Regions from separate parts of the Homo sapiens genome. Here region 1 is linked to region 2. The links are contacts of gene promoters, found by promoter capture Hi-C in blood cells and fetal thymus (Javierre and others, 2016). All regions are on one chromosome and are shown on one strand. Each heading gives the region's core, a stretch centred on a gene start or on the middle of the fragment in contact. The rest is flanking DNA. Distances are from core to core; before and after follow the strand shown. Region 1 overlaps MAN2C1 (mannosidase alpha class 2C member 1). Region 2 holds the start of PPCDC (phosphopantothenoylcysteine decarboxylase).

Region 1 (3,637 bases), core at 125-2,624, 340 kb after region 2:
GCCCTCGGTGCCCACTGCCAGGGTCCCTGCCTGGCCCAGCACAGGCTTCCTATGGGACAGGGGTGGACATACTGATCCAGAGCAGCCTGTGTTCCCACCACCTCCACCATCCCCACATGCTGCCCAGCCTATACCGTGTCTCCAGGTGGTAGTCCATGACGTCCCATGCATCCCAGTACAAGGGGACATCATCAAATAGCACAAACTGGTTCCCCACGGCGCCCTCAGCAATGGCCTCCCTGGAAGGACATGGGATTGGTGCTGTACAACCAACTGACCTCGCTGTCTCCAGCTGCTCTTGGTGGGGTAGGGTGGAGTGAGTAGACCCAGTGGACAGGGGACTACTGCCCAGCCTGCCCTGCTCCATGTGTGGGTTCCAGCCCAGAGCCACTGGTGGGCTGCTGTGGGCAGTGTTGTGGCAAGGGGAGAGAGGAAATGGCCTGGGGTCTACTTGCCAGGCACTGGGAAAGGGCAATGAGGATTTGGCACCTGCCAGAGGCCACCAGGACCAAGGACGTCAGGCGACCAGTTGGGTCCAGCTTCACTCGGATGATGCCATTGTCCAGAGTCACGGAGCCATCAGTCTTTGTGGGAGGAGGCCTTGAGGCTGAGTCTGTAGGGGCTTCCCACACCAAAAGTCTTCCCACCCCAACCCCAGCCCCGCCTCACCACTTGCTCCAGACAGGGGAGCTCAGGACCCTCAGTTGTAAGAAAGTATCCCAGCACAGTTCCTGCCCCCCAGGGCATGCAGGACTCACCTCTTGCACTACGAACACAGGCTGCTGGGGCAGCAGGGGCTGCAGTGAGGTGGGGGGAGGAACAGGAGCATAGCCCATGCTGGGCACTGTCACCAGGGCTGGGGGTGAGGCCTGGGCATCAGTGCAGCCTTCCTGACCTTTCAGGAAGCTTGCGCAGGTGGGGATGGGTTGGTGGAAGATGTGCTACTACTCTCCAGTCAGGGGCACCCAGATCCCTCGGGGTATCCCAGGCCTGATCTGTCTGGCCTCCATCCTTCCTGCTGCAGTAGCAACCCTTCCCCTCAGCTCGTACCTAGGCTGTGGGCCCCGCCCGGTTTGGGCAGGGCCATCACTTCGATCCGCTTCCAGGGCAGTGTGTTGACGATGAGGAGGCCCTCAGGACCTGGCTCCCCAGCACACAGGGCTGCGGCTGCAGCGCTGAGCAGTGTATTGCCATGGGAACGGATGTCTGAGGAAAGACTGGCTGGTCATAGGTGGGCAACAGGTCTGGAATGTGCCCATGGGTATCCCACAGGGGACACTCTGGGCTCAGCCCTGGGGTTGGAGAGAGCAGGCAGGACTATTGTGAGCCTAACCTTCATAATGGCACATGGCTTCCTCTGCCACCATCTGGATGCAGCTTCCAGTCACCACATCATGGAACTGGTTCAGAAGAAGGAGCCTGCAGGGGCCAAGGGCAGGGATGGGAAGGCTGGGAGGGGCAGGCACAGAGGTAACTGCAGTGAGCAGTCAGGTGGATGGCAGGGACAGAACTGGGCTGACCTCCAGAGGTGCTGCAGCTGGGCTGCTGGGTATAGGAACTGGGCACTGCGGGCCAGGGCCAGGCTACTGAGCAGCTCCACGTCGTGCAGGATCCGCTCACATTCCCGGTTCCCCTTCTTGATCTGAGCCCAGGATGGGAAGATTAGTCTGGAGCCTGCTTAGCTGTCCCAGGACACCTTCCAAAGCCCTCCCTTGCTCAGAATCCCTGAGGACTCACCAAGGGCCTCGTGGAGAAGGCCTCTGGCGGGTGACCTGCCTTAAATGCCTTCCCTCTTCTCCCCGCAGCCCAAACCCTTCTTTCTTCAGGGGTTTCTGCCTCCTTCAAGCTTTCTTGACCAACCCAGGTCTTGAACTTCTCTCCTCCAAACTTCTCTTCCCCTAGATCTGGCCTGGGCTCTGTCCCCTGCTGCCTTCTCTGACCCTCTGCAGATCAAGGGCACACCCTCCCTGCACAGCCCTGCAACCTCCCCCTGACCTGGGCATGGGTGGTGTATGTGCCATTGTGCAGCTCCAAGAAGAGCTCCCCAACCCACGTGCACAGCTGCTCTGAGTCACTCTCCAGTGCTGAGAAGAGCTGTCTTGGAGAAGATAGCTGCACCCTGAGGAGACCACAAGCCTAGGTCTCCCAGCCTTGGAGACCACATGGCTCACCCTTCTTCCACACCAAAGCAAAGGATCCAGCTCCTACAGAGAGGAGCCACTCCAGAAAGCTCCCCGTTCACAGATGGCCAGCCCTGGACGCCCTAGGAGAGCCTCTCTCTCTGATGGGCTGGAGCCCTTACCAGCTTCAGCTTCTCCCCCACCCACCCCCAGGGTGGAAGTTTGGAGGAACCCGTGGTCTAGGATTGGGACAGGACAAGGTCCAGAGGAGGGGTTGGGCCCAATGTCTGAGGGAAGGCAGGGCTCATGGCAAGGGCCCAGGGTGGGGCTAAAGGAGAGCCAAGGCCTGGCCTGACCTGGGCAGCCCATCCGTATTGCTCAGGCGCTTCAGGCGGTCCAGCATGGTCTGGGTGGGGCCACCACCCCCATCCCCAAAGCCAAAGAGGAAGGCACTGTGGTTGGCCCGCCCCTTGTCCCGGTTGTTGGCCACGGTCTTCAGCACCTAGACAGGTGAGGGCAGGCCAGCATGGATCAGCCTGGAACAAGCCAGCCCTCTCCAGCCTGCCCCTACCCCACCACCCTAGGTGACCCCTCACCTCCTCCACGCTGCCCTGCATCCCATAGGAGTCGCCAGGTGGGAAGTGGACCAGTACACGGGAGCCATCCAGGCCCTCCCAGAAAAATGTATGGTGCTACCAGCAGGGAAACAGAAGCAGGGCAGAGAGGCCAGAGTCAGGGCTGAGGCAGAGCCAGGCCTTCCAGACTTGGTCCTGCCCCTGCCTGCTATGTGACCCTGGCAGAGGCAGAGTGAGGGTTTGGTGGTCTGTCTAGGACCCCACAATAAGGGGGAGAGGCAAATGGGCCAGGCGGGACTGAGGCCCACTCTGACCCTGACCCCCCGGGGGCCTGCTTACTGGGAAGGAGTTCACCAAATTCCAGCTCAATTTCTGGGTGAGAAAGCGCCTGATGCCACAGCCGTGCATGATCTGGGGGAGCTGTGCTGAGTAGCCAAAGGTGTCCGGCAGCCAGAACTGTGGAGAAAGAGGATCCTGGAGTGCAGGAACCAGAGCTCCAGGCGGACTCACCCCAGCCTCAGCCCCTCAGCACTCCAAGTCGAGCGCCAGCCCCACTCGCCCACAGCCTGGTGTAGCAGCTCTCAGCCTACCTCAGAGCACATCTTCCCAAACTCCTGCAGAAAGAAGTTCTGGCCCTGCAAAAACTGCCTCACCATGGCCTCTCCACTGGGCAGGTTCCCATCCTGGCAGTGAAGGAAGTGGGAGGCAGCCCAGGTCAGCGCTGGACGGGGAGCAGGCAGGCGCTCAGGCCAACCCAATCCCTGCAGGAGAAGCCAGGGCTGCTCAAACATGGGAGTTACAGCCAGAACTCAGGAAGGGCCCCTGTCCTTCAGGCCTGACTGTCCATCTGCCTGAGGGGGTGCCCAGGACTAGGCCATGCAACTTGTCACAGCGCTGGAGGCTCTCCTCCCCCTTGAAGTCCCAGGCCTTGAGATCCCAGGG
Region 2 (3,292 bases), core at 722-3,221:
GCTATACGACCCTGTGTGGCTCCTTCTCTGAGGCAGCCTTCAGTAGGTGATGAAATTGCCACCTAGGCCCCCTGCCTTGGGAGGAGGAAGTAGAAGAAGCAGGCTGGATCGGCCGGGCGTGGTGGCTCACACCTGTAATCCTAGCACTTTGGGAGGCTGAGGCGGGTGGATCACGAGGTCAGGAGATCGAGACCATCCTGGCTAACACGGTGAAACCCCATCTCTACTAAAAATACAAAAAATTAGGCGGGCGAGGTGGCAGGCACCTGTAGTCCCAGCTACTCGGGAGGCTGAGGCGGGAGAATGGCGTGAACACAGGAGGCGGAGCTTGCAGTGAGCCGAGATCGCACCACTGCACTCCAGCCTGGGCGACACAGCAAGACTCCATCTCAAAAAAAAAAGACACGGCTGGATCCCTGCGTAAGGGATGGTTTGGCCCAGATGGTCCACTGCGGCTAAGGGCGGGGGTAGAGCAGAGGCCCCACCTCAGCTCAGGGCAGGGGACCCGCAGCTGGTTCAGCCACCTCAATGAATACAGAGGTTCCTGGGGCCTGTGAAGGCTAGAAAATGAAGGGGGCAGGGAAGCATGCCAGTGTGTGTTCTTCTGCCGCCTTCCCTTTGCCCATTTGATGCCTTCCACCTGGATCGCTATTGGGATCCTCTATCTAACCTCCTGGCTGTCCTTCAAGATTCATTTCAAGTCACTCCTTCAAGAAGGCTTTCCTGCCTAGAGGTGTTGCTTCCTCATGGAGGATCTTACCCTGTCATTTTCTGTGTCCCTGTTTGTCTCAAGAACAGGGACGCATCTGATTTATCTCTGTATCCTGTGCACCTAAAATAGAAGAGGCTTGGTAAATATTAAGTGCCACGAGCCCTCTTTTACTAAGGACCTGCCAACATGGGCCCCATTCACACTAATACCATGAAGATAGCCCTTTTCTATACTTCGTCATAAAAAAGTAATACACACACCCGGGCAGCAACTTCCACACAAACAACACATGTGCAAGGAGATCACCATTATTTCCAGCAAAATGCTCCCCAGGGCCGAGCGTGGTGGCTCACTCCTGTAGTCCCAGCACTTTGGGAGGCCAAGGTGGGCGGATTGTTTGAGCCTAGGAGTTTGAGACCAGCCTGGGCAATAGAGTGAGAACCCGTCTCTACAAAAAATACAAACATTAGTCTGGCATGATGGTGCACTCCTGTAGTCCTGGCTACTCCATAGGCTGAGATAGGAGGATGGCTTAAGCCCAAAAGGTGGAGGTTGCAGTGAGTGGAGATAGCACCACTGCGCACTCCAGTCTGGGTGACAGAGCCAGACCCTGTCTCAAAAAAAAAAAAAAAAACAAAAAAAAAAACAGCTCCCCAACAAGATAGCAGGCTACAACATGCATGTGATGAAGCTGATTTGAAGCGCTCAGTGAGAGGTATCTGCATCAAGTTGCAGGAGGAGAAGAGAGAAAGGAGAGATAATCATGTTCCTGAGGTCTCAGCCCTGGATCAGGAAATCATTGAAGTATTAACATATCCTGACATTAAGGAAATGCTGATGTTTTTGGACTTTGGCAGTCTGTCCAACCTGCAGGTCACTCAGCCAACAGTGGGGATGAATTTCAAAACGCCACGTGGAAGCTGTTTGAATCTTTTTGAGATACTGTAATATTTTCAATAAACCTGGGACAACAGCAAAAAAAAAAAAAAAAAAAAAAAGGCCCCAAGCAACAAGCAGTGTGTGTGGGGCTGATAGGAGTGAGGAAAGGAGGTCGGACAGTTATGCCAGCCCCTATCGAGAGTCCCAGCAATACAAAGAACAGGGCCAGGGTTTGCTCCAGGATTTCCCCAGTGGACTACAACTCCCGGAAGGCAGAGAAGTGGACTACAGCTCCCAGAAGGCTGCGCGACATACAGCCAGCCCGGTGCTCTCGTGAGGCGTGCCAGTCAGATTCCGCGGGAGAGCGGCAGAGATACCGCGATATTTGGGAGCGGCCCCGAGACGCGCCTGGCGCGGGTGAGCAGTGGAAGGGGGCTGGGAAGCTGGGTTCTCGCGGCGGCGCGGGAGGGGAGGTTCGGGGAGCTGTGTCCGCGAGCGTGGGTCCACGGCTGTCTGTGTGTGTCCTTATTTTCCCCTGTGTGCCCATGAAGCTCTGTTTGCGACTGTGCGTGGGTAGGCGGCCGTCCATCTGTGCGACCTCACTTTCCCGGCTGTACGGGTGGGGCCGCCTGGAGCAGGAGGGACCCCCGAGCCCTGAGTGGAGGGTTTGCATCTGTACCCGTCCAGCCCGACTTTGTGCTGCTCTGCGATTATTTGTCCAGTGTCGTTTAATCTAGTTTAAATGATGGCCGTGTCAGCTCCTCACACTGAACGCTTACCCGGGCTGCCCAAAGTACAAAGTGTATTTAAAAAGTTGGTAAAATTAAAAAAGGAAAGCCATGGGATGTTGGAAGTAGCCCTAGGCCTGCCAAAAAGTGCTGAGTGCTATTTAAAAATTAGGCCAAATCTTGTCAGAAAAGAACTTCCTGCTGTCCTTGAAGTATTTGGAAGCAGGTGCTAGATGGTGAGCAGGAGAGGTTGCCAAGTTGGGGAAGTGGTGGTTGTCCTGGAGCAGGGGTTTCCACATCTCTCACAGTGGCTGGGAAGTAGCAATTCGCAGTCACTGCCTTTCTAGTAGCCCACGTGTGTGAGTGTGTGTGTTAGATACATTTATCCCTCAGTATCCGCAGGGGATTGCTGTATACTTTTTTTTTTTGAGACAAGGTCTCATTCTGTGACCCAGGCTGGAGTGCAGTGGCAGGAACATGGCTCACTGCAGCCTCGACCTCCTGGGCTCAAGGGATCCTCCTGCCTCAGCCTCCTGTGTAGCTGGAACCACAGGCATAAACAACCATACCCGGCTAATTTTTATTTTATTTCATTTTTGTAGAGACAGGGTCTCACCATGTTGCCCAGGCTGGTCTCAAACTCCTGGCTCAAGCTATCCTCCTTCCTTGGCCTCTCAAAATGCTGGGATTACAGGTGTGAGCCACCACATCACCCTCCTGTATACTCTTTTTTCTTTTCTTTTTTTTTTTTTGAGTCAGGGTCTCACTCTTGTCTCCCAGGCTGGAGTGTAGTGGTGCAATCATAGCTCACTGCATCTTCGAACTCCCTGGGCTCAGATAATCCTCCCACCTCAGCCTCCCAGGTAGCTGGGACTGCAGGCACGTGCCACCACGCCCTCCATATAATTTAAATAATCTCTAGATTACTTATAAAACCTGATACAGTGTAAATGCTATGTAAATAGCTACACAC

The links. The method cuts DNA at HindIII sites, captures the fragments that hold promoters and counts their contacts. A CHiCAGO score of 5 or more calls a contact.
Region 1: a contact is called between a fragment that was not itself captured here and the fragment with the promoter of PPCDC in region 2, in 1 of 17 cell types (neutrophils). The highest score is 5.5, in neutrophils.

Annotation. Positions count from the first base shown.
Region 1 is chr15:75,358,570-75,362,206 of GRCh38, forward strand. MAN2C1 (mannosidase alpha class 2C member 1) reads right to left here. Exons shown (of 26, transcript NM_006715.4): 9 at 3,286-3,378; 10 at 3,035-3,151; 11 at 2,717-2,812; 12 at 2,477-2,622; 13 at 1,996-2,119; 14 at 1,521-1,642; 15 at 1,334-1,419; 16 at 1,051-1,206; 17 at 759-856; 18 at 490-584; 19 at 135-239; 20 at 1-49. Among named protein-coding and RNA genes, the nearest start is that of MIR631, 6.7 kb to the left of the region's middle. The HindIII fragment of the contact is 940 bases long and covers 905-1,844 here.
Region 2 is chr15:75,021,619-75,024,910 of GRCh38, forward strand. PPCDC (phosphopantothenoylcysteine decarboxylase) reads left to right here and starts at 1,972. Exons shown (of 6, transcript NM_021823.5): 1 at 1,972-2,008. The HindIII fragment of the contact is 7,713 bases long and covers 1-3,292 here.